Regions from separate parts of the Homo sapiens genome. Here regions 1 and 2 are each linked to region 3. Evidence: promoter capture Hi-C in 16 types of primary human blood cells and fetal thymus (Javierre and others, 2016). All regions are on one chromosome and are shown on one strand. The core of a region is centred on a gene start or on the middle of the fragment in contact, and the rest is flanking DNA. Distances in the headings are between cores, read along the strand shown.

Region 1 (4,429 bases), core at 875-3,374, 2.0 Mb before region 3:
ATAGTTGAGATTCTGTCTCAAGAAATTAAATAAATAATCAAAATGTGGGCAGGTGAGAAAAACATTAGTGACCTACTTCACTTTTGAGACCTGGCAGAAAAGTGATTGAATGAGCTAAGGGGGAAGGGAAGTATGGAACACTTCAAATAGTATAGTAATTTAGGGAGTTCTTTTGGTTAGGTTTGTTGCCTGAGATCTTGGAGATGACAATCGCAGTGATAATGATACTCTAGGTGATTTACAGTTTAGTTTCATATTATCTGCTACAAATACGCTGGGAGTGTCATCAGAATTAAAAGAAATATTAGCAGTTCTACATGGAATTTATGTGTTTTCTTATCTCAAGTTGAAAATTTTTTTTTTGGTTAAATTTGTTTTACATTTACCTTTCTTTAAAAGTGCTGTTTTGTTCAGATGTAATGGAATTGTGCCTACACAGGATTTTTGGCCACTAAATTTGTGAATAGGGTCCTTTAAAGGCATACTATTGACACCCGATAGTGTAACTTTAGTCTTTTAGTTATATCAAATATGAACAAACCTAAGACACAATCTTGTGTTTTTAAGGATAAGTTCCTAGTTCTTTCCTCTTATTCAACATCAAACAACACTTACAGAAAATATTATTTTCTTCGAATCAGGTTTACAAATTCCGTTAGTTCCATTATAATATAATTGAGAGTATTTTATCATGGAAGTCAGGAGTTCGCAGAAAGCCAAGCTGTGTGATATGTCACAGAAAATTCAAGTAAATTAAGGACTAAAAACTGTCCACAGACATTGACAGTTTAGATCATATATGTAGTTGTAATGTGTTTTCTGTTATACCTGAAAAATCCCTTAACTGCTCTTAGGTTGAGTAATAAACAATTAACGGGTGTTTTATCTCACTTTGAACATAACTACCAAAAAGGTATTAAGATTCAGAGATTGCTGTTTTAATATTCTGCACATAGTGTATTTTAAAGCCCTTGTTAAACAGAAGTATTATGTAGATACAGGCATGGGCTAGTTTTAGTCATAATAGTAACACTGACTTAATGTTACCGTAATAGATGGCCGAAAGAGTTGACTAAACTCTAAAAACAGATACATAAGCAAATTAAAGTATATTTTTCTGTTTTAAAAACAAATTTACATACTTTTTAAGAGTTCGGACGAAAAACCTAAGAATAAGAATCCTATCTGCCATTCATTTCTTTTTGTAGTGAATGAAGCTTATACAGAATAAATAAGTTCCAGATAAATTCAACAGGTGAATCGGATACCTGCTCTATGTCAGGTGCTGGGAATATACAGAAGATAAAACAAAAACAAACACAAAAAAACCAACTCCACATTATGGAATTCACATTGTAAAAGGAATACATTTCCCTATAATAATAATTACAGACATGTAGTGAGGACAATCCATGGGCCACCTGAGTTGTTTTCAAACCTGAGTTCCACTCATACACCTGTTCTAGAGCCCTTGCTCCAAAACCACTATTGATATTCCAGTTGTATGTTTTAAAAAAGCCATTTCCCATTGATTTTTGTTATAATTGTACCTATTTTTTTTAAAAAAAGATGATAATTTAGTTTCACCAGGGCTGTTTTCTTTCTTTCTTTTTTTTTTTTTGAGACGGAATCTTGCTCTTGTTGCCCAGGCTGGAGTACAATGGCACGATCTCGGCTCACTGCAACCTCCACCTCCCAGGTTCAAGCAATTCTCCTGCCTCAGCCTCCTAAGTAGCTGGGATTACAGGCGCCCGCCACCACGCCCAGCTAATGTTTGTATTTTTAGTAGAGATGAGGTTTCACCGTGTTGGCCAGGCTGGTCTCGAACTGCTGACCTCATGATCCGCCCACCTTGGCCTCCCAAAGTGCTGGTATTACAGGCAAGAGCCACCGCGCCTGGTCAGCCAGGGCTGTTTTCTATCTCCTAAACAGGATAACACTGCAGGAGGTACTTCACCTTTAAGAGCTTACAATGTTGTAGCAAGTGCCCAACTACCTTGTGGAGGAATCTAGACCCCATAGCCAGACATCACATTTTATGATGTACACTCTAAACATGGTAAAAGTTCAAAGAAGCAGGAGTGCACTGTGAGTAGGTAGAGAATGCATCTCTCTGGAGCAGAAACGTCAGATTATTTTAACAGTATAAGCTATGGAGAGCGATTATGAGCCTTGTGGTGCCTGAGAACAGGAAAGAAAGAAGTATCCTACCTTCCTTATATAATTTATACCTCGGGGTAACTAAATGGTTGTGAGGGAGATTTCCTCATTACAGAATAATTCCAGTTTCACAGTGCAGAACGTCTGATAGAATGTTAACATTTACAACAGCTCATGAAATAAAGCTAGACCTCTTCAATGGCTAACTTAATGGTTGAAACCATTAAGTAAAATGCTGATGGAGAAGTATGTGATTAATGAATCAGTAGTAGAGAAGTATTTAATTCATGGATCAGGGCAACCGCACTTCAACTCACTGATCAATTTTAATATTACAAAAACAGATAACTAGATATTCTAGTTCAAATAATTGAACTAGATAGTGGTTTACTAAGACTCTAGACTCTCATCAAGTTTCTAGATCTGATGAGTAGTTTATTAGAAATTTAAGATATAGGGGAACATTGTTAAATCACCACAGGAGCACAAGTAGCAAAAATCCACACTGAAATTCTATAAGACAAATGATCTAAGGAAAAAAAATTTTTAAGGAAAGAAGGGCAGGAAAACCTGTAGAGTAAAATGAATTTAAAGATATTTATCGGTTTAATTGCAATGTATAGACCTTGTTTGGATCCTAATTTGATCAAAGCTAACCACAAACACATTTATGAGACAATTGGAGAAATTTTAAAACTGACTGAATATTAGAAGTTAAAGAATTGTTTTTGAAAATGGTATTGTGGTTATAGTTTTTAAAAATCTTTTGGTATATGCATACTAAATAATTTACTAATGAATGATATGATCGGACTTTGCTTCATACTTTAATCCATGGGGGATGGGAAGCATATATGGGAGTACACAGGAAAGAAGCTTGTCTTAGTGTTGGTATTGATGATGGGTGATGGGTAGATGGGTTTTTTTATTCTGTTCTACTTTTGTGTATATTTAGAATGTTCCATAATAAAAACTCAAAAACACGTAAAACAAGACAAAGAAAGATTCCTGTGGTTTGGAGACAACCAAAGCAAAGTGAGAACACATACAAAACCATGTGAAGGTCAGTAAGGTGCAGCTAAGTGTTCTTAGGGTATCCTCCCAGGCCACTTTGAAATACTACCTTGAAGTCTATCAGAGGATCAGTCCATTTTCCTTATACTCCAGATCAAATATATTGACTAATATAGTGCAAGTTCACACATACCCACAACAAGGATACCATTGTTTAAATATATCTATTATAATTAAAACTAGTAATTAGAATTAATAAGAGATGTGTTGAGAACTTTTACTAAGTACTTTGTATGTATAAAGTACTTGCTTTAATGTTAGCCTATTAAACTTAATAACTTTCCATTTTAAATATTATTTTTCTAGTTCCATAGTCTTTTTCTAGAAGTATGCCTTATTTCACATTCTTAAACAAGTACTCTAAGCAAAATCAGCTCACTAAAAAAATTTGTTTGGCTTTAACTGCTTTCAATAAGCTTAGTTCTGTTTTTCCTCTTTTATTTTGTTATTCCTCCTGTCTAACTGAAACTTTGTACCCTTTAGCCAACATCTCCCCAGTACCTTACCCCCTCTGTCTATAAGCCCCTGGTAACACTATTCTCTCCTTTCTGCTTCTCTGAGTTTGACTTTTTTATATTCCACATATAAATGAGATCATGTAGTATTTGTCTTTCTATGCCTGGCTTATTTAGTGTAATGTCCTCCAAGTTTAAACATGTCGTTGCAAATGATAGAATGTTTGTCCTTTTAAATGGAACTCTAATAATTGTTCTAGCAATTTATTCGATTTTTTGTTTCCAGTTAGATTCCTTTTTTCTTAACCTTCTTTGTGTGTGTGTGTGTGTGTGTGTGTGTGTGTGTGTGTGTTTAGACAGGGTCTCACTGTCATCCAGGCTGGAGTGCAGTGGCGTGGTCACAGCTCACTGCAACCTTCAACTCCCAGGCTCAAGCGATCTTTCCACCTCAGCCTCCTGAGTAGCTAAGACTACAGGCACACGCCACCACCCCTGGCTAATTTTTGTATTTTTTGTAGAGACAGGGTTTTGCCATGTTGCCCAGGCTGGTCTCAAAACTACAGGGCTCAATTGATCGCCCACCTCCGTCTCCCAAAGTGCTGGGATTATAGGTGTGAGCCACCGCGCCCAGCCCCCATCAATATATGTTAACACTTAGCAGTTAGTTCATTGTGCATCTACATATTACCAGTGTTATTAATCTAATTTAAATATTTAACTGAGTGCTGTTACTGCTTTGA
Region 2 (4,711 bases), core at 2,118-4,617, 2.3 Mb before region 3:
TTCCAATACGGCCCAGAGAAACCCAAAAATTGGACACCCCTGATGTAAGGGAGCTGAATTGCTTTAGAGCTTAAAACTTGTTTTAAATACTTAAATTAGCCTTCATGAGTTTAATTTGTAATGTGTCCAAACAAAGTATTTAGAGTTAGGTATTGAGTTTATTTTTTCTTTTGCAGATGGTGATGCCCAGTCACTTAAGGAACACCTTATTGATGAATTGGATTACATACTGTTGCCAACTGAAGGTTGGAATAAACTTGTCAGCTGGTACACATTGATGGAAGGTCAAGAGCCAATAGCACGAAAGGTACATTTTAATAATAACTGACTATAAATATTATTTTTCTTGATTAGTTCACATTTTATTATTAATTCAATGAATTGTGAAGTTTCATCACTTATCTTAGAGAAAAAGCCAGCAAAATAACCGTACACTGTGTTACAATAATGGCAAGTAACATGTTAAGAAGGTTTACTTATGCTAGCCACTATTGTAAGTATGTATTATTGATTAATCCTCTATATATAGAGAGAAAACTCTGTAAGGTAAGTAGTAGGAAATGAGGATAAAAAGTTAGGATCTAGTTATTTTAGAAAGTCATATCAGGATACAGACTTTGGCAACCTGACCCTGTTTTCTGTGCTGCACTGTTTTTGATAAAACAATTAGAAAACAATGAAGAAACTAAAAGTTGAAGCAATGTTTTTTGGAACATAAAAATTTTTTAAACTTGAAAATGTAGATTTTTTTTCATATCCTTTAACATTTTAAAATTGTAGTCTAGAAACATTAAGAATAACCAATTTCGTTTTTTTAGGGAACTAAAAAGCAATAAGTAAGGGTGTTGCTGTAGTAGAATACCAAATATTCAAGGTAAATGAGTGAACCTTACACATGTATTTGATCATTTATTGTAGGAGGGGTGGGAGGCTGAGAAGGGACCAAAATCTCTTGGCATAATTTTGTATCTGGTTTGGGTCCCCCGACCCTCCCCCCATCCCCCGCCACATAGAAACAATTAAAAAGTTGGATTAGGTAACATAAGGGTAAAAAAACCTCTAGTAGACCTAACTATATTTGAATTTATTTGGAATTGATGCTACAAAGTTGCCATGTTAACAATTTGTATTTGTGTATCCATGGTTTTAGGTATATTAGAAGCTAACCTTGGATCTTATTTTCTGAATAGATCTTGAATGTACCTTTTATTTATTTTTGTTTAGTTTTATTCCTTAGTTTCACTCAGCCACTTCAAAATTAGAATTTCTCTGTTGTAGGAATGCTAGCCTTATAGATCTGTGAAATGATCTAGTTGCTTTATCTATAGTTGCTGGAGAATTGAGTGTTTTGATCAAAGGTAGCCTATTTAGCTGTAAAACTGTCTAGAATTATTTCATTCCTAGGATAAAGGAAAATTTGTGTCCAAAATATCTCTAAAGGTATTACACTGTATTCCTTTAATCTTAATGATACACTTTTTTTTCTTATAAATGTAGCACATTATACACTAGCGGTCTTCAGTATGATAAACAGATCAACTACCAATTTCATTGCCATTACTCTTTGAAATAGTCCTCATTGAGAGTTCTTGAAACCTGTGTCTAATAACAAAGTAAAATATAATCAAAAATTTCACACAAGTAGAAGAAAAAACATTGACAAATCTCTTGGGAGACCACATACTTATTTTTAACAAGATGAATGAAATATATTCAACCTGTAAAATAGTTTGCAAATGTTCATGTGCTATATTACATTGCGTGGAGTTCTTATTACAGATGCAATTTCCTACAACATTAAATCTGCAGTAAAATTTAATTAATCACACTTAAATTTGGGAATTTCATTTGCATTTTCACTGTGGCCCACATGACTGATGCAGGTGGAACTCAAAGAAGTAAATAGACCAGCTTATAGTGTCTGAAGCCCAACTTTCAATGTTACCCATCTCTGATTGCATTAAAGAATCTAGGATTGGTGGTTCCCCTAGCTATAATGCAGAAACCAAGTTAAACATCTTCCTGTACCTCAAAGATCTCTAAAATGCGTCATTTATAGTGTCAACACTCAAAGAATGGACGAAAAGAAAGCAAGGATATAAGCAGAAAATACGATGGAATCAAAATCCAAGAGAAACAGCAGACAATAGAAACAGACCCATAAGAAACCCAGGTAATTGAGTTAGTAGATTTTAGAATAGTGGGCTTATTATGCTTAAAAAAAAAAAAAAAGGCAGATGAGAAGTAGGGCAAAACTATTAAAGAAGAAGCAAATAGAATTCTAAAACTAATAATATGGAAATTTTATGGATTTAATGTTTGGGAATAAAATTATTAGACCAAACAGAACTGAAGAGAAAATTTGTAAACTAAATGATTTGTCAATAGAAAATATAGAGTCTAAAGCTTAGAGAGACAAAAGAATAGAAAATACAGAAAAAAGCTAAGGCATAAATGGAATGCAGTAAGTAAGTTTAACATGCATACATATAGTTGGAATCTTGGAGAGGAAAGAAAGAGTGGGTAGAACTAATACCAAAGGACGTAATAGCTGAGAATTTTCCCAAACTGAGAAAGGTGTCATGCTTTAAAGAAATGCTATGAATCCCAAACTGAAATAATACAAACAAAACTGTACCTAGTACAAATGTTGAAAAGCAAAGGCAAAAAAATTTCTAATAATAGCCAGAGAAAAAGACATGTTATCTTCAAAATAAGGATAAGACAAAATAATGATTTCTCAAGAGAAACCATGGAAGCCAGAAAACAATGGACTTTGATATGTTAAAAGAAAATAACTGCCAATGTAGGATTCTGTGACTAAGAAAATAATCCTTCAGGGATGAAGGTGAAAAAAGCCATTTTCAAATGAAAACTAATAGAATTTGTTACCTGCAGACGTGTATTAAAGGCACTACAAAATAATCTTAAGAATGGAAGGAAAATTATTCCAGATGAAAGCTTGGAGATGCAGGAAAACAGTGTAGACTGACAAAATGTAAATGTTGTGAGTAAGTCTTAAGATGGACTGTTGAAAACATTAATAATAATTTTTATGGAGTTGAAAATGTGTATAGAATTAACTACACAATAGTGTTAGCATGTAAGTTAAGATAATATTCTCTACTATGTTCCCTGGTGATCCCCAGCTCCTCATATCCATATTCTTGGGCACTCTTCTTCCATGTTGTACTGAGGTTGGTCTGTGTGGCCAATAGCATATAGCAGTACTCATGGTACATCGCTTTCGAGATTAGGTTATAAAAAAACACCGCGGCTTACATCTTGGGTGCACACGCACTCTAGCTGTCTCTCTTTCTCATTTCTCACTCGGGGAATTCAACTGCATATGGCGAGGACACTCAGGCAGCCTATGGAGAGGCCCACATGGTGAGGAACTGAGATCTCTGGCCAATAGAGAGGAACGGAGGCCTGCAACAACCATGTGAGTGACCTTGGAAGTGGATCCTTTAGTTCTAGTTTAGCTTTCAGATGATTGAAACCCCAGCCATACCTTGAGAGCAACCTCATGAGAAACTCTACACCAAATCAACCCAGTTAAGCTGCTCCCAGATTCTTGACCCTCAGAAACATTGTGAGATAATGTTTGCTGTGTTAAGCTGGTAAATTTTGGGGTAATTTATTATGCAGCAATAGATAACTAATACTAATCATGGTACCTGTAAATAGGTGCTGATATGAAAACTTGAAATGTGGCGTGGCTTTGGAGCTGACAGTGAATAGAGGTTGTCAGAACTTTAAGAGTATCAATGAAAGCTTAAAGGGCCTTAAACAAACCGTTAGTAGATTACTAGACTTTGAGATAGCTGCCAGTGAGAACTTGAAGTGAGGAAAGTCTTACTGGAAACTGGTAGAAAGTGGTCTTTGTTATACAGTGGTAGAGTAAGTTTAGCAACATGTTGCCTGCAGTAAACTGAAAGGTTAAAGATAGTATTTAATGAAATTATAGGTCTGCCAAAGTGTTAAAAGTACTGCCTAGTTTCTTTTTGTGTTGGTTATAGTCAGATGTGAGAGAAGAGAAATACACTAAAGAAAGGATTGTTCAATAAAACAGAGCCAATATTTACTAGTTTTGAAGATTCCTAGTCCCTCCAGATGGCAAACGGTGCTAATACTAAGCAGTGTTTCTGAGCAAAGATAAAACTCAGAGTATTCTCAGAAAAAAAGTGTGATCTAATCTGGCAGCCAAGGGTGTGACTGTAAGTTACCTCAGAAAAATCAAAGGTCATGCCTCACAGTACTATTCAGACAAAAGGCCCTATAAAGTATTTAAGGGTTAACTTAGAGGTTGTCCTGTCAGTAGTAATATTAATTAATATTAAGGGTGTCTTCTCAATATGTGGCTTCTAAGAACAGGAGGGCTTCAAGAAGCTTACGGGCAACCCCTTAGCTTTCTCAGCATAAAGCCAAAGTAGAGAGGACTTATCCTACAGAACATTTGTGGATATGGCTTTTGTCTAATGGAATGAACTCCAGTAAGATCCAGTGGAGACCTACATTGTTTTCGAATTACCTCGCAGAACCACTGCCATTTTGGACTGCAGAAGCAGTATTAAATGAAAGACGCCTTTGACCTCCCAAACTCCAATAAGTAGGAATCAGGCTGAAAATTTACTTAACTTCAAGCATGTGCTAATGCATGAAAAAAGGATGACTCAGAGAACAGAACCAAATGTTAGATAGAATAATT
Region 3 (5,013 bases), core at 2,438-4,937:
GCGTCTCAAAAAAACAAAACAAAACTTGAACTTGGTTGCATACATTTAATTTTATTTATTCCACCCCCTTCCCTGAATTTGAAATGTTAAAAGTGTCTAGTTGCTTAACATGACATTTTGAATTTTTACAGATACAATTTTCATGAGCTAAATTTTAAATTCACAATATTTTAATTAAAAATGCTACCAGGCTAGGCATGGTGGCTCACACCTGTAATCCCAGCCTTTTTGGAGGCCGAGGTGGGAGGATCACTTGAGCCTAAGAGTTCATCAAGACCAGCCTGGGCAACATAGTGAGATCTTGTCTCTACAAAAAAAATATAAAAATTAGCCAGGCCTGGTGGCATATGCCTGTAGTCCCAGCTACTCGGGAGGCTGAGGTGGGAGGATTGCTTGAGCTTGGGAAGTCGAGGCTGCAGTGAGCCAACATGGCACCACTGCACTCCAGCAACAAAGTGAGGCCCTGTCTCAAAAAAAAAAAAAGCTACCAGAAAAATATGCAAATATCATTATGCTGCTTTTAGGAAACAAAATCACAATTCTTCCTTCCTTTATTTATTTATTTATTTATTTATTTTCTGAGGCAGAGTCTCCCTGTGTCGCCCAGGATAGAGTGCAGTGGCGTGATCTTGGCTCACTGCAACCTCTGCCTCCAGGGCTCAGGTGACTCTCCTGCCTCAGCCTCCCGAATAGCTGGGACAACAGGCATGTGCCATCATGCCCAGCTAATTTTTTTATATATTTTCAGTAGAGATGGGGGTTTCACCATGTTGGTCAGGCTGGTCTTGAACTCCTGACCTCAAGTGATCTGCCGGCCTCAGCCTCCCAAAATGCTGGCATTACAGGCGTGAGCCACCTCACTCGGCCCTTTCCTTTATTTATGTTTTTTTTGTTGCTTAAAAGCAGTGCTTCCATTTCATTATTTGATCATGGCTTTTAAAATTATTTTATTTATTTATTTTTTTAAGAGACAGACTCTTACTCTGTTACCCAGGCTAGAGTGCAGTGGTAAGATCATAGTTCATTACAGCCTCAAACTTCTGGGCTCAAGTGATCCTTCCACCTAGCCTCCTGAGTAGCTGGGACCACTAGCATGTGACACCACATTGGCTAATTTTTTTTTGTTTTTTGTTTTTGTTTTTGTAGAGACAGGGTCTCATTTTGTTGCCCAGGCTGGTCTTGAACTCCTGGCTTCAAGCAATCCTCCCACCTCGGCCTTCCAAAGTGCTGGGATTACAGGCGTAAACCACCATGCCTGGCCTAATCATGCCTTTATAAAAAAATCATTTTTTTTTAGAGAAAAGGTCTCACTATGTTGGTCAGGCTGGATAGGAACTCCTGAGTTCAAGTGATCCTCCACCTCAGCTTCCCCCTGTGCCCCACTCAATCATGCCTTTTTATTATAACTGATTCTGATGGTATGCTGACAGATATACAAATTAATCCAGTCCTTTGGAGCTTAAAAATAATACAATGAAAAAAATCATTTTTATGGTGTGGTGCATCATAAAGTTTATTTATTTATTTATTGAGACGAAGTTTTGCTCTTGTCGCCCAGACTGGAGTGCAATGGCGCCACCTCGGGTCACTGCAACCTAGGCCACTCCGGGTTCAAGCGATTCTCCTGCCTCAGCCTCCCGAGTAGCTGGCGCACGCTACCACGCCCAACTAATTTTTGTAGTTTTAGTAGAGGCGGGGTTTCACCACGTTGGCCAGGCTGGTTTCCAACTCCTGACCTCAAGTGATCCACCCGCCTCTGCCTCCTCAGGCGTGAGCCATCGCGCCCGGCCAATAAAGCATTTTAATGCATTTTTCCTCAAAGTATTCATAAACTTCAACTTGTTCTAGGTAAAATTATTTTCCCCTTTCTACCCACAATAAAATGAGTAATTTAAGCCCTTAACCTACACATTATTCTTACCTTGGAATATTTAATAAGAGCTGCGCTAATATTATATCTGAATAATGAAATAAGAGAAACCAAATAAGAAAAATTTGTCATAAAGCCCTATTCTCCTACATTAGATTATGTGCATGGCACACACACGGATCAGCTTAAGCTGGGTGAAACTATATGGAGTTAGAATTCCTGGCTTCCTATCATTCAGTAGCTGTGTGGCCGAGAAGAAGACTTTAATGTTGTAGGACCTTTAAAATGGGCTGTAACTCAAAGGCCCTCCTTCTGGAGTTGTTGTGAATCACGTGGGGTAATATATACTAGTTTACAAGATGGATGTGTAAGCCCGAAGGTGGAGCAGGTTTGCAAGCCTTCTTTCAGCCTAGGGACAGTAGGATGACTCATGAGTCAATTCTTCTCTCCTTCCCGTCATTTCGGGTCCAACTCTTCCTCCTGTAGTCCACAAAAGAGCACGGCTGACCGATACCAAGCAGAGAACCCAGTAGGGTATGTGACCACGTTCAGATCAACAGAACGCAAAGCAGAACGGTCCGAGTACTGCCTCCTACAGCCACTTTCCTTTCTTTAAGCCTCAGCTGCTGCTCTAGGTGTAAAACCGGCATAAAATAGCACTACGTACCTTGCAGAGTTGCTCGGAGGATTGAAGGAGATAATGTAAGAGAGTTTGGCTAGTTTGGCTATGATGGATGGACATTTTCTCTTTTCTAACGTCTCTCTTCCCCTCCTAATGAAACCTCTTCTGAAGCTCGCTAACTATAGCAGGGCTTGCAGCTTCAAAAAAACCTTTCAGTCAAGATCTTGAAATTAGTATTATTTAAATCAGTGCAGTAACACCAAGGTGTAAAAGACTGTTACCCACTGGTGGCTTTAAGAGGATTAGCTGACTGAAGAGTTTTAGAAAACATGGAAACTTTTTTTGTACGTGGATGGATGGAATTCCCTGATCTCCTTATCCCCACCACTTAAACCATGCCTTGTGGGTGACCGTGGAAGGCTGATTGTGGCGGGGACATTTACAAAGCACATTTAATTGATAAGCACTCGATTGTTCTGTAACTATAGAACTAGTTCACCTTTCAGTTGCACTGAGTGCGCCTAAGATAACGATCTTATTTGGAAGTGAGCCCTCGCTAGAAAGAAGGGGAAAAGGGTAAGACCGAAGCTCAAATGAATGACCAGAAAGGATGTTTTCATTCGAATAAACTCAACCCAGTTTTTGACCTCCCCACCCATCTCTGCCAACTTGAAATCCTCCTGGAGGGGCGAGCTGCTGGGGTTCAGGACTGGGCGTTGCGGCTGCAGGAAGCCGTGGGACCTGGGGGGTCCCTCGGCCGGGCAACCCCCACCCACCCCTACAGGACCCTGGTGCGGGGGCGAGCAGGGAGTGGACGCAGAGAAAGTTCCCCGCTCTGCTCCCGCCCTCTCCGAAACTCGAGCCAGCGAGGCTGGGGGCGGGCGGACGGCTCGCAGAGGAATTTGCAGTTTCCGGGAGGTTGAGGAAGCGACCCGAGCACAGCCCCAGCAGACGCAGCCCTAGCGCCCGGCTTTCCGGGTTCCGCGACGCTGTCGGGAGAAACCCGCGCGCCTGGAAGGGGCGGGCCGGGCTCCCCCCACCTGCGGGCGGGCGGGGAGGGTCGCGGCCGCGCGGGGTGGGGCTCGGCCGGTCGCCCGTCCGGGGCGGGGCCCAGGGAGGCGGGGTCGCGGGCGCACCGGGGCCGAGCCGCGCCTGGAGCCTGGCGGGGAGGCGGCAGGAGGGGCCGGGAGAGCCTGATTGAGCGGCGGCCGCAGCTGCATAAGGACTGCCCGGGGCTGCGCGCCGGGAACCTCGCGGGGCTGGCGGGCGCCGCACCCCCTCCCTGGCCGCCTGCGCCCCGGGGAGGCCGCCCGCGCGCGACGGGACCGGCAGCATGAGCAGCGGCTACAGCAGCCTGGAGGAGGACGCCGAGGACTTCTTCTTCACCGCCAGGACCTCCTTCTTCAGGAGAGCGCCCCAGGGCAAGCCCCGCTCCGGCCAACAAGTGAGTGGCGCGCGGCGGGCGCTGCAGCCCGCGCCCCAGAGTTCCGGGGAACCCGCCAGCCCGCGCCCCCTGCCTCCACGTGTCTCTGCGGGGCGCTCGGGGGATGCTCGCCGGGAAGGAGGAGCGGGCCGAGAAGTGGCTTCTGCCTTTTCGGGTCCCGGGAACGTGCCTGGAGCTTGTGCGTGTAGGCGAGGGAAGGCGGAGGAAGGGCGGGGAGGCTGAGGGCCGGCTTCTGCCTTCCGCGCCAGATGGCCTCTGCAGCTCCGCCTCGGGCTGCCGCCTGCGGGGAGCAGCCCCGGAGCCAGCAGGCGTCCCCGGGCCACTCCCCCAGGTTTCCCCTTCGCGTCCCCGCTGGGTCGACGGTCGGGTTCGCGCGCCTGTCCTTCCTGTTAGTCAGCTTACTCATCTGTGGCCCCCAGAGTGGCTTGGGTCAACGTGTAATAGCTAGGGGTGGCCGGGTGACCTGACCTCCCCTCTTCCTGGCCCGGGCGACCTGGTGGAGTGGGGGTCCAAGGGCACCGTGGGCCTCGCCACCATAGGCTCTCACTAAATCTCCGTTGCGGGACTCAGGGTTGTGCGTTTTCTGTAAAGCTAGGTTTTTTGGTGCCCAGATGTTTTGCAAACAAGCTCCTATGCTAAATACTAGCCAGCGACAGCTAACCTTTTCGCCGGTTTCTTCCTTTTTTGGAGGCAGCATGCCGTGGGAAGCACGAGTTGGGAAAAGATGGGAAGGGAACTTGTGCCAGTTTCGCCAGCTGTAGCCGTGTTTTTTGGGAGGCCTTCCCGAAACGGGGCACGTCGGCTGGACTGAGGAGCCCGGTGCTAGAGCCCGCGGCCTCCTGGCACTAGGAGCCGCACCAGGGGAGCCGGGCCAACCCGGCCACGCTCACATCAGATTACAGAAGATTGTAATGGCACAAATTTGTTGCTTTTAGAAAACAGGCGTTCGCCAAACATTTCTATTAATACCGGACTGAGACCTAGAGACTAGAAGCAAGAAGAATCGTTCAGGGGCCGGATGATAACTTCTTTTGGTGGATGTGGGAGGGTGCAATCTGTCAGGGTGGTCTTGCCAGA

Evidence for each region. The method cuts DNA at HindIII sites, captures the fragments that hold promoters and counts their contacts. A CHiCAGO score of 5 or more calls a contact.
Region 1: a fragment that was not itself captured here is called in contact with the fragment with the promoter of RASSF3 in region 3 in 1 of 17 cell types (total CD4 T cells); the score reaches 5.4 in total CD4 T cells.
Region 2: a contact is called between a fragment that was not itself captured here and the fragment with the promoter of RASSF3 in region 3, in 1 of 17 cell types (activated CD4 T cells). The highest score is 5.6, in activated CD4 T cells.

What each region holds. Positions count from the first base shown.
Region 1 is chr12:62,606,936-62,611,364 of GRCh38, forward strand. All of the region lies in intron 1 of MIRLET7IHG (MIRLET7I host gene), which reads left to right. Among named protein-coding and RNA genes, the nearest start is that of MIRLET7I, 5.5 kb to the left of the region's middle. The HindIII fragment of the contact is 1,819 bases long and covers 1,216-3,034 here.
Region 2 is chr12:62,302,614-62,307,324 of GRCh38, forward strand. USP15 (ubiquitin specific peptidase 15) reads left to right here. Exons shown (of 22, transcript NM_001252078.2): 3 at 177-307. Among named protein-coding and RNA genes, the nearest start is that of USP15, 45 kb to the left of the region's middle. The HindIII fragment of the contact is 816 bases long and covers 2,960-3,775 here.
Region 3 is chr12:64,606,808-64,611,820 of GRCh38, forward strand. RASSF3 (Ras association domain family member 3) reads left to right here and starts at 3,688. Exons shown (of 5, transcript NM_178169.4): 1 at 3,688-3,936. The coding sequence starts at 3,826. It overlaps RASSF3-DT (RASSF3 divergent transcript), which reads right to left and starts at 2,659. Exons shown (of 2, transcript NR_187549.1): 1 at 2,538-2,659. RefSeq lists enhancers at 2,228-2,277, 2,498-2,557 and silencers at 3,188-3,257, 3,418-3,937, 4,148-4,217. The HindIII fragment of the contact is 11,544 bases long and covers 1-5,013 here.